Regions from separate parts of the Homo sapiens genome. Here all the other regions are linked to region 3. Evidence: promoter capture Hi-C in 16 types of primary human blood cells and fetal thymus (Javierre and others, 2016). All regions are on one chromosome and are shown on one strand. Each heading gives the region's core, a stretch centred on a gene start or on the middle of the fragment in contact. The rest is flanking DNA. Distances are from core to core; before and after follow the strand shown.

The links. Contacts are between HindIII fragments. The CHiCAGO score rates a contact against its expected background, and 5 or more counts as called.
Region 1: the fragment with the promoter of MYL12B here is called in contact with the fragment with the promoter of ANKRD12 in region 3 in 2 of 17 cell types (total CD4 T cells and non-activated CD4 T cells); the score reaches 6.5 in total CD4 T cells.
Region 2: a contact is called between a fragment that was not itself captured here and the fragment with the promoter of ANKRD12 in region 3, in 1 of 17 cell types (total CD4 T cells). The highest score is 5.4, in total CD4 T cells.

Annotation. Positions count from the first base shown.
Region 1 is chr18:3,259,697-3,263,385 of GRCh38, forward strand. MYL12B (myosin light chain 12B) reads left to right here and starts at 2,437. Exons shown (of 4, transcript NM_033546.4): 1 at 2,437-2,541. It overlaps MYL12-AS1 (MYL12A and MYL12B antisense RNA 1), which reads right to left and starts at 2,663. Exons shown (of 4, transcript NR_130145.1): 1 at 2,357-2,663; 2 at 1,576-1,634. RefSeq lists an enhancer at 1,833-1,882 and a silencer at 2,093-2,982. The HindIII fragment of the contact is 3,443 bases long and covers 405-3,689 here.
Region 2 is chr18:2,963,832-2,967,509 of GRCh38, forward strand. All of the region lies in intron 1 of LPIN2 (lipin 2), which reads right to left. LPIN2-AS2 (LPIN2 antisense RNA 2) reads left to right here and starts at 3,169. Exons shown (of 3, transcript XR_001753322.2): 1 at 3,169-3,211. The HindIII fragment of the contact is 4,542 bases long and covers 1-3,637 here.
Region 3 is chr18:9,134,791-9,138,403 of GRCh38, forward strand. ANKRD12 (ankyrin repeat domain 12) reads left to right here and starts at 1,991. Exons shown (of 13, transcript NM_015208.5): 1 at 1,991-2,175. NDUFV2-AS1 (NDUFV2 antisense RNA 1) reads right to left here and starts at 1,930. Exons shown (of 3, transcript NR_110772.1): 1 at 1,574-1,930. RefSeq lists silencers at 1,093-1,266, 1,269-1,358, 1,709-2,058, 2,269-2,668, 2,709-2,758 and enhancers at 1,549-1,598, 2,089-2,138. The HindIII fragment of the contact is 1,483 bases long and covers 1,609-3,091 here.

The DNA of each region.
Region 1 (3,689 bases), core at 1,187-3,686, 5.9 Mb before region 3:
ATCTTCCAAGTCCCTATATCTTTTTAGTCTAGATTTCTCTGTGTCTGCTCAAATAGCAGGAAATGTGACTTTTCTCCAGTATTTATCCACACACATTTTAGAGTTGTAATGAGTTTACAACTTGTTTTTTCGTTTACTACTTAAATTATATCTCATGTTTTGGCATAGCCACCATTGTTTTGAGTATATTTCTTTTTCAACCATTCTTAACTTCAGTTATCTTTGATGTGGGCATGCTATAATTAACAATTTCCCAATGATAGATATTTAGCTATCCAGCTATTTTTATTAGTGAATAAATTTTTATTCATGATTAAACAAAGCCTATTATAGGCTTTTCTTTTGCATCTAGAGAGAACAATATACCTTAGAATTATTTCTTCAGAATAGTGCTGTCAAATAGAAGCTTCTGTAATTAAGGAAATGCTCTCTGTGCCATACAATAAGGACACTAACCACATGTGGCTATTGAGCACTTAAAATGTGTCTAATACTAGCCAGGCGCGGTGGCTCACGCCTGTAATCCCAGCACTTTTGGAGGCCCAGGTGGGCGGATCATGAGGACAAGAGATTGAGACCATCCTGGCCAACATGGTGAAACCCCGTCTCTACTAAAAATACAAAAATTAGCTGGGCGTCGTGGCACAGGCCTGTAGTCCCTGCTACTCGGGAGGCTAAGGCAGAAGAATCACATGAACCCGGGAGGCAGAGGTTGCAGTGAGCCGAGATCAAACCACTGCACTCCAGCCTGGGCGACGGAGCAAGACTCCGTCTCAAGAAAAAAAAAAGTGTCTAATACTGCCAGACGCACTGGTGCGGTGTCTCTCACCTGTAGTCCCAACTACTTGGGAGGCTCAAGTGAGAGGATCGCTTGAGGCCAGGAGTTCCAGGTTGTAGTGCATTATGATCACGCCTGTGAATAGCCAGTGCATTCCAGGTTAGGCAACATAGGGTGACCCCATCTCTAAAAATAAAACGTATCAAATACAACTGAGGAACTAAATTTAAGTTTAGCTGCATGTGGTTAGTGACGATTGTATTGGACAGCACAATTCTAGAAACTTTTTTTTTTTTAATTTAGACTATCGAACCAAAACCTAAGAGTAAATATTGTAGAACCAGGTGTGACTTTTCAGCAATTGCTTTTCTAACACTATTGAGAAAATACACACAGTTATGAACCGCGTTTAGAGCTGTGCTGCTGGGATGGCGACCACCCCATCAGCATCATGTGTGCTTACCAGAAATTCGAATTATCCTCCACCCCTTACTCACTGAATCCTGATACCCGGTTTTGAGGCTCAAAAATGTTTTTAAAAGCCCTGTTATTATGCGTGCTACTGTTTAAGAACTGCTACAGAGTGCTGAACACAAGGTCCCTCTCTTCTAGGAATTTCTGATCAAAGATTTCTAGAATATAAACTCCCTAAGAGGCTTTGAATTCATCTCTCAGCATCCGGCACATGTTAAGGCAGTAAGAAGAGTTCAATAAAGATTTGCTATTAGATTGCCGATCCTCCACCATCCTGAAGTAATGCTATTTTAGTAATGCTAGATGAAGTAATGCTAGATTACCTCAAGGTGAGGGAAAATATCCTGAAGAACACAGCCACAAACACGATCTAGAACAAAACCTGAAAAACGTAGCTTTGTGTTTTTATTTGTGTGTGCATGTATGTGTGTGCGTTGCCATTTTCTTGATAAAGGAAAGCAAGTAGTTCGAATAAAACTTTCTTGTGGCCAAAAGGGGAATCAAACAGCCGTAGGCTGCGGCCGTAGCCTGATACGGCCGTAAACCTTATGAGGGTAAGCAGAGAGGAGTAGGTTAAAGAATTTAACTCGGGCTGTAATGCGGTTTGAAAAGAGAAAGGGATTCTGGAACGGAGAAGAATCCGCCCAGGCGCCGCCCTCACCTTCTCAACATTACATGAGACGAACCCTAAAACCTGTCTTGTCTGAAATTCAAATTTAGAAGAACTGTACTTTTACTTGCTACATCTGGCAACTCAGGGTTCGGCGCCAGGGGACCCCAAATCCTAGGCGGATCGCGCCCCGCCTGGGTCAAAGGGGACCCCAAATCCTCGGCCGATCGCGGCCCACTCGGGTCAAATTCCAGCGGCCTGCCCAGCCGCGCCCAGCGGGCCCAGGAATGCGGAAGGGTGGCGGAGCTACCAAAGGAGCGGGGGACGAGGGCCGGGCTGCGGACGACCGCCGCAGCGCAGGCCGCGATATCGCAGCGGATCGGAGCAGGCCGGAGGGGCAATTAAGACCCCGGCCGTGTGCGTCCGGCCTCAGCAGCCCCGCCGCTCGGCGGACACGCAGACCCCGCCGGCCCGGGCGCGAACACTCAGCGCACCCCCGTTCCACTTGGTCCCGCCGCGCCTTCCGGTGCGCCTTCCGGTGCGCCTTCCGGTGCGCCTTCCGCTCCGCCCCTTCAGGCAGGAAGTGTCGGCGCCGCCACTGTCCGGCCACAGCCTAACGCTCTTCGCTGTCGTTTGTGGTCTCGCGCAGGGCGGCCCCGGTTCTGGTGTTTGGCGTCGGGTGAGTCGCGCTCGACTCTGCTCGCGAGACCCCTCGGGCCGCCGTCTCCGTACCCCCGCGCCCCCTCCCGTCGCGCGCCTGCGGCCGGACCCCGCCCCAGGGCGGCCAGGCGGCGGCAGGACCTGTCAGACTGGCTGAGAAGGGGGCGCGGGGCCGGAGGTGGAGGGAGGAGGGTTGGCGGCGGGAGGAGGGTTGGTGGCGAGGCCCTGGCCCGGACGTCCAGGGGCCGGGAGGCTGCAGGCGATGGAGCCGGTATGGGGAGACGCCCTGCTGGAGAAGTGGCCGGGTCCCGGCCGTGCGTGGGCCGGCCCTGCGCCACCTGGGTGACCTCAGACACCTGGGCCTTGGACGGCCCGGCTGCCCGGCGGCCAACGCCTGCCCTCCCGGCGCCGCGGCGGGTCCTGGCGGTGGATTGGGGCCGACCCGGGCGTGTTCGTGTGGAGCACCTGCCCTGTGCCCAACACTATCCTAGATGCTTTGGAGGGTGGAGGAGCCTCCTGTTGCACGGTCTTGCCTAAGGTGAAGCCTCCAAGGAAGCCATTAGCATGCCGGTAACCGAGTGTGTGGTTGATACGGGCTCAAATGTGATGATTTACATAGAGTTGTAATTCGCTCAGTGTGTCTTGCATCTTGTAAAGGTTTAGTTTATTCGTGTTGATTGAAGAAAGGACCATTAACAGAAATAGGGAAAGGTTACTTGGAAAAGAGTCGTGACCTCACTGAAGGCCTTGGATTCAACCTTAAGAGGGAGAACTTAGCGTTTCCGGCTAGATGTGTGGGAGGTGGTAACGAGCAAAACTCAAAAGCTGGGAATTGTGTCCTGTGAAAAGCAGGCCGTGGGGACACCGGCGGGTATGGAACAGAACTGTAATGACTAATAGTCGGAAATAAGGGTAGATAGGTAAGTAGGACCTTCTTATGGATGTCTTGAAAACTTAGGAGAAAGAAAAGATTATCTAAGAAGCCATAGAGAGTAATTTTGGAGTCTTCACTAACGGAGTAATAAGAAAGGGATGTTTAGAGGATTCGTTTGGCCGCTTTAGTTTAAGGTAGATTTGGAATGGTCTTTTGGTAAGAGAAGAATCAAAGCATTTAGAATTCAGTAGGACCTGATAGATTACCTTGTGAAGGCTTTGCGTTTTATAACT
Region 2 (3,678 bases), core at 117-2,616, 6.2 Mb before region 3:
CAAATACCAAAAATGCTTCTAACACATCTCTGAAATACTCTAACAATAATCACACTGGAAACAACTCTTTTTTTGAAAGCTCGTAACATCCCAAATTCTTAAACTTATACATTATTATCTCAGAACTACTTTAGAGGTGGTATTATTTCTATTTTTAAAGACAATTAAGGCTGGGTGTAGTGGCTCACGCCTGTAATCCCAGCACTCTGAGAGGCTGAGGCAAGCAGATCACTTGAAGTCAGGAGTTCAAGACCAGCCTGGCCAACACGGTGAAGGCCCGTCTTTACTAAAAATACAAAAAATTAGCCGGGCGTGATGGCGTGCGCCTGTAGTCCCAGCTACTTGGGAGGCTGAGGCAGGAGAATCACTTGAACCTGGGAAGCGGAGGGTGCAGTGAGCCGAGATCACACCACTGCACTCAAGCCTGGGTGACAGAGCAAGACTCCGTCTCAAAAAAAAAAAAAAAAAAAAAAAGAAATGAGGGTTAGAAAAGTTAAGTAATATCTATGACCTCCCTCTGTCCCCCACCACCACCAAATTCATATATTGAAGCCCTGACGCCCAATGTGATGGTATTTGGAGACAGGGCCTTTGGGAAGTAATTAGGTTTAGATGAGGTCACATGGGTGGAGCCTCCATGTGATGGATTAGTGTCCTTCTAAGAGGAGAAAGAGACCCAGACCACGCTCTCTTTCCTTTCCTCGTGAGAATACAGCAAGAAGTCTGCAAACCAGGAAGAGAGCCCAATCGGCTGGCACTTTGATCTGTGAGAATGGTAAGAAATAAATGTCTGTTGTTTAAGCCAAATACCATCTATGGTATTCTGCTGCAGTACCCCAAGCTGACTAAGACAAGTCTCTTCTTAAACATCGCATGCTATGCTGCATTTCAGTTTTGGGATCGTTACAGTTGACAGAGACTCACTACTTTACCAAGAAGTCCATAAAAATGTCAGAGAACTATTATGTCCACTAGAAATCACACTGAATATTACCACGCTCTTCCAAATGAAACCACAACACACCAAAGAATTTATCAGAGTCTCTTCTATTCTAGGCTAAGCATTCTTGTTCCTTAAAATATGTGAACTGATTGGGTCTACTCTGACTCTTATGACAATTATTTATGTCCATCTTTAAAAACGATATTTAAAGACAGCTAGACACAATGGCTCAGATGTGGCCTGACTGCTACACAGTGTATGTAATATACAGTGTGCTGTTTAGGCCTAGGTACCTTCCCATGGGCTAGATTAAGTATTGGGAGCTCCGAAGGAAAAGAAGTACTTATTGATTACTCAAATAAAAAAGTGAAGAAAAAAAAAAGCAGTAGAAAATAAGCAACTACAATACTTATTAGAGACCAAATGGCCCTTCGCATATAAAATTCAATACGCCAAATTAGTCCTTCATGCATAAAATTTGACAGTGCCCACTATCATATTTTTCTTATCAAATATTTTAAGGTATAAAAGGACACACACTGGAATGAATGGTAGCTTTCAAGATTTCGTTATTCACCAAAAGTTTGAAGATCAGCTTAGCATCTTTTGCTGAGCATCAAAGAAACTAAAATGAATAATCACTATATGGAGTATGGATTTATAAATAAAATGGGCCAGGCGCGGTGGCTCACGCCTGTAATCCCAGCACTTTGGGAGGCCGAGGCAGGTAGATCACTTGAGGTCAGGAGTTCAAGACCAGCCTGGCCAATATGGTGAAACCCCATCTCTACTAAAAATACAAAAAAATTGGCCTGTATCGTGACACATGCCTGTAGCCCCAGCTACTCGGGAGGCTGAGGCAGGAGAATCGCTTGAACCCGGGAGGCAGAGGTTGCAGTGAGCTGAGATCGTGCCACTGCACTCCAGCCTGGGTGACAGAGTGAGACTCCCAATCTCAAAAAAAAAAAAAAAAAAGCATCAGTAAATAGGTTCAAATACCAATCCCCCTCCTACAAAAACTGCTTAAAATTATTTCAATTATTTGATGTGTTCAATCAAAAATAACTTTTGTTAAGGAAAAGAGTAATCAGAGATAAAAGGTAGTTTAAAAACAATAAAAAAAATTCATAAATTATCAGCACAAAATGGACACATTCTATTTACTTTTATTTTCATTTTGAGACAGGGTTTCACTGTGTTGCCCAGGCTGGACTGCAATGGTGCGATCTCTGCTCACTGTAACCTCAGCCTCCTGGGCTCAAGCGATGCTCCCACCTTGGCCTCCGGAGAAGCTGGGACTACAGGAATGTGCTACCATGCCCAGCTAATTCTTGTATTTTTTTGTAGAGACGGGGTTTTGCCATGTTGCCCAGGTTGGTCTTGAACTCCTGGGCTCAAGCAATCCACCTGCCTTGGCTTCCCGAAATGTTGAGATTACAAGTGTGAGCCACCACGACTGGCCTCAAAATGGATACATTCTAAACCACTATTTTAAGTGTTTCAAAATCTGTTTCTTAAGTTTATCTCCAAATATCTAATCGGTACTAGTATTGTTAGTACTACTACCAACGAACACACAACTAAACTTGTTACACGTCTCTCATGTGTCAAGTGCTATGTTAACCTGTATGTTATCTCATGTAGTCTTCACAGATACCCATGGATTTGGTATTCCCATTTATATGTGGAAACTCGGGTTCAGAAATATCCAAGGTCAGCACACTATTAAGTGGCAGAGTTAATATTCAAACTCAAGTATGAGCCTAGAACCTAAGCCCTTAATTGCATCTCTAAGTAACAGAAATGCTCTAAGTAAACATGATAAAAGCCTTCATGAAGCCTCCAGATTTCTTACTGCAAGTGGGCTGCTTTCAGCAATCTGAGTATCATTTTTACTTAATGCGACTTGACTACTTAAAGATGAAATGATTACAGGGAATCCAAAGAAGCCATACTTACCCTCCAAGTCTCCTCACACCACTACTATTAACCCTCCCGCTGGACCATGGTCCAGTGTTACAAAGCAGACTCCTGGGAGCGCCACATGTCATGAGGCTTACGGACAGAGGTTAAAACAGCTTTTACCAAAGAACATGCCATTGCAGCTAACTTTCTGCTCATGGACATGAGGAGTATGCTAGGAGGGAAGAGAGACACCAGATGCTTCAGGAAATAGACAACAGGACACTGTTACCTAGGATGTAGGTAAACATTCCAGCTTGCCCCTGTGCTCCTGGACCAAACTCCTTCAGGACACCCATGATTACGGTTTGCATTTGATTAGCATGTAATATTTTTCAAGAACTTCCTCAAACATACCTCATTTGATTTTCAAAAAGAGAATGTGGGTTATGCTAGCAGGCATTATTAATTTCATTTTAAATTTGAGATTGAGATAAGAGGTGTCTACTATTCACTAGAACCCAGTTCTACCTATACTCAGGGTCCCAACTTTCTCCACTACCTCTGACCCATGGCTTAAATCATTGGGTCTCAAGGTCATGTGGTGTCCCTGAGGGCAAAAAAAATCTGAGGGCTGAACTCAGGTTATACTAAATCCCTATGGTTTTCTCAAAGAATCCCAGAGTAACCTAGAGGTGGCCAATATGAATCTGGGGGGGATTCTGGATGGTAAAAACTTCCCCCCAAAAGTAAGTGATGAAACGCAAAGGTACCCACGCAGCAGCTGCCGCAAGCTTCTCCCCGGTCAGGGAGGGCAGGGGGTGACAGTCCCC
Region 3 (3,613 bases), core at 741-3,240:
GCTGTCTCCCAAGCTGGAGTGCAGTGGTGGGATCTCGGCTCACTGCAAGCATTACAGGCGTGAGCCACCACGCCCGGCTTAAGCATTACCATTTTTAAAAAAGAAAGGTCCAAAACACTTGACATTATCCTTAGCTATTCTGACACTGCAAGTATACAAAAAATAATTGGGTGAAGGGATTGGAAGTATGATTATGTACTCTGCAGTGGTATGGATATTACAACTTAGAAAAAAGGATAAACCCTTTTGTGTATTTAAGAAATTAGCTGTAGTACATTAGTTTTGCATTAGCCAGCTTTAATGCATGAATAATTTATATTAATCTAATCCTCGATTTCTCAAAGTCACCTGTACTTGAAACAGACTATTCACTAGTAATTATGCTTTTTTTTTTTGAGACAGGCTGTGTCCCCAGGCTGGAGTGCAGTGGTGTGATCTTGGTTCACTGCAATACCCTGGCCTCAGCCTCCTGAGCAGCTGGGAGCACAGGCAGGCGCCACCAGCCTGGTTAATTTTCATATATTTTTTTAGAGACAGGGTCTTACTATGTTGCCTGGCTGGTCTCAAACTCCTGGGCTCAAGCCATCTGCCCGCCTGAGCCTCCCAAATTGCTGGGATTACAGGCGTGAGCCACTGCGCTCGGCTATAACGATTATTTTTAAGTATGTCTTTAAGATTTTTTTTTTAATTGAGAGAAGGTAAACAACAGTTAATTTTCCAAGTGGCACAAAAAAGTAACAATGAAAATGTCCTACCCTGGAGCTCTCCTGACTTTCTCATAGGCGACTGTTTTTTTCTTTGTATTTCACATCATAAATAACCAAGTTAAATGTAACACTATTCCACCTCTAGCCATAAGGTGCTCTTTTTCTAGTCTTGTTGACCCTAAAGATTTGTAGGTGGGAGAAATCAGGAACCCAGGAAAGGAAAAACTCCTGATCTTTAATGCAGGTTTATGCTTTACATAGTAATTTGATGGGACCTCGCCGTCCCTGTCAGGTCTGAATGTCACTTCATCTGCTGTGATCACACCTGAACCCTCAGTTCATCAAGACGTTAAAGGACAGTGTAACATAAACTTGTAACTGCATGCACTAAGTCATAAACAGACGCTGTTGTTGCAGATTAACCTCTACGTAAATAACGCGCCCAGAAGGGAGTGAGTACACGCTGCTGCCACGCTGCGACGGTCAATTTTCCTCCGGCACCCTTCCTAGTACCTGAGCAGCTCCCTCTCAAATCCCCAACACTACGTGTGGGAGGGTGCACTGAATTCCTCTTTAAAAAGGCCACTGGAAGGCGTGGCTGGGAGGGGACGCGCTCTAGACCCCCTGGTGCCAGGGCAGGTGCACGCTACCGCGCTTTCGGGGCGGGGCCCAGGGCCCCACCTGAGGCGGGGGGCCGCGGGCTCTGGGCGTAGGTGCAGCTTCTCCGGCCTGGTGCGGGGCCAGACGGCCGCCGCCGGCTTAGCGGGGGAACTTCGCCTAGTCCTCGGGCTGCGGTCGCAGCGTCATTTTGCCTGAGTTGGATCACGCTCGTCCACCCACCCCGTGTAAAAATAACAGGTGAATACCCTATGTGGGGGTCCTCATCGCCGCCATTTCCAGAAGCTTCCAGTCACAGCCACTGCCACGGTCGCCACAAATGCTACTGCAGAGCCCGCTTGCCCAGCAGCGTCACCGGCGCCTGCCCTGCCTCTTCGCCCAGCCTTTGATTCCCCCTCCTTTGTCGGATAGTGTCTGCGGCGGGGAGGCGGTGACACTAGTCCGAGTGGGGCGTGGAGACCGACCAGCACGAAGGGCGGAGTTCCGGCCCGCACCCCTCCGCCGCCTGCCGCTTGGTACGTCCCGCTTCCCCGCCCTGCGGCTCGCGGAGCCTGGCTGAGCAGCAGGAGGGGCGGGCGCCGGGGGGCGGGGCGGTCACGCCGCCCGTCCCGTGCCCGCGGTAGTCACGTGTCCGCGGGTGTCACGTGCTCGCGTCGCAGCCAATCGCGGGGCGACGCTGTCCTGGGAGCGAGGAGGCTGTGGTGAGAGACGGACCGAGACCGGAGATGTTTTCAAGCCCGGCTCCGGCGGCTTTACAGGCGGCTGCAGCGGCGACGAAGACAACGACAGCGACGGCTACGCCGAAGCACTCGTTCCGGGGGTGAAGCCTCCTGCGCCGGCCTTGCCTCGGGTCCGTACGGGTGAGGGGGGCGTGGCGACAGGAAAGGAGGAAGGAGGGGCGCGGTTTCGAGCTTGTCCCCGGCGCCAGGGAGGAGATCCCCTCAGTTCTGCGCTGCTCCCGTTCCCCCTCCCCAGAGCAAGGTAGGGGACGCGCCCTGCCCGCCCCCCCCGGTCCCGACGCGCCGCCCGCCCAGCCTGGCCCGAGCCGTAGCTCGCCTGACAGTGACAGGCCGTTAGTGCCCCCCGGCGCGGGTCCGCCGGGGCCCCGCCCGCCGCCGCCCCTCCCGGCGTCGCGAGGAGCCGCGGCGCAGGTGGGAGCCGCCAACTGGGCGGGGGCGCTGCGCGGGGCGGGGCGGGGGCCGGGCGGAGGGCCGCGAGCTGGCCTCGTCGCGGGCGCCCCTCACCGCGGCTGGCGGGGCTGGGCTGCCGCCGCCTCCCGGAACATGGCGGGGCCGGAGGAGCGTGTGCGTGCGAGTGTGAGTGTGCGCGGCCGAGAGGGCGCCGCTGGCGTGCGGCGGTCGGACCCGCGGGGGCGGGGGCGCGCCCGGCCCGCCGCGCGTTCCCGCCGCCAGCCGCCGAGCGTGCGCCGACGCCGGGGAGTCTGCCGCGGCCGCTCGGGCCGGGAGCGTCGGAGGTACCCGGGTCCTGGGAGAGGTGGATGAAATCAAGAAGGGGAAATTGCTGCTTTAGTAGTGTCCGGGGAAAGAGCAGCCACTCTACAGTTCTGTCTTAAATGCCAGTGTAAAATAACCTTGCCGCATTGGACAGGCAGTTCCCGTCATCGTTTTTCAAGTACCCACTTGTGATGCTTCAAGACCCCTGGAGCACGTCAGGTTCTTAGATCTCGTTTTGAGGAGTGATGTGGAGTGACGCATCCTTACAGATCCCAAAGCGTTGAATAAACGGTTGTACAAAGAGGTATGCGAAGCTTAGCTGACAGCTGTTTTAGTAATAACAGTAAGACGCTGTCTGGGATAGGAAGTTACTGTTGCACTCGTTGAAACCTTAGGAAACATTTAAAGCAGTGTAGTCACCGGGATTGTAATTTCCACTGGACACCCGTGGTTAAACTGCGAACTAAGGTGAAGTGTGTTGCAGATCCAGTGCTGTGTATGTAATGGTTCGGAATTACCTCTAATCCTAAAGTTGAAATGAGCCTGCATCTGCAGTCATGTATTTCGTTTTCATTTTAGAATGGTTTATGTAAATTATAAAGAAAGGCTAGTGAAATAGCTATTTTATCGTAAATTAACTGTGTATTAAAAACATATGCACAGCCGGGCGCGGTGGCTCATGCCTATAATCCCAGCACTTTGGGAGGCCGACGTGGGTAGATCACCTGAGGTCAGGAGTTCGAGACCAGCCTGACCAATATAGTGAAACCCCCGTCTCTACTAAATATACAAAATTAGCCAGGCGTGGTGGCGCATGTCTGTAATCCCAGCTAC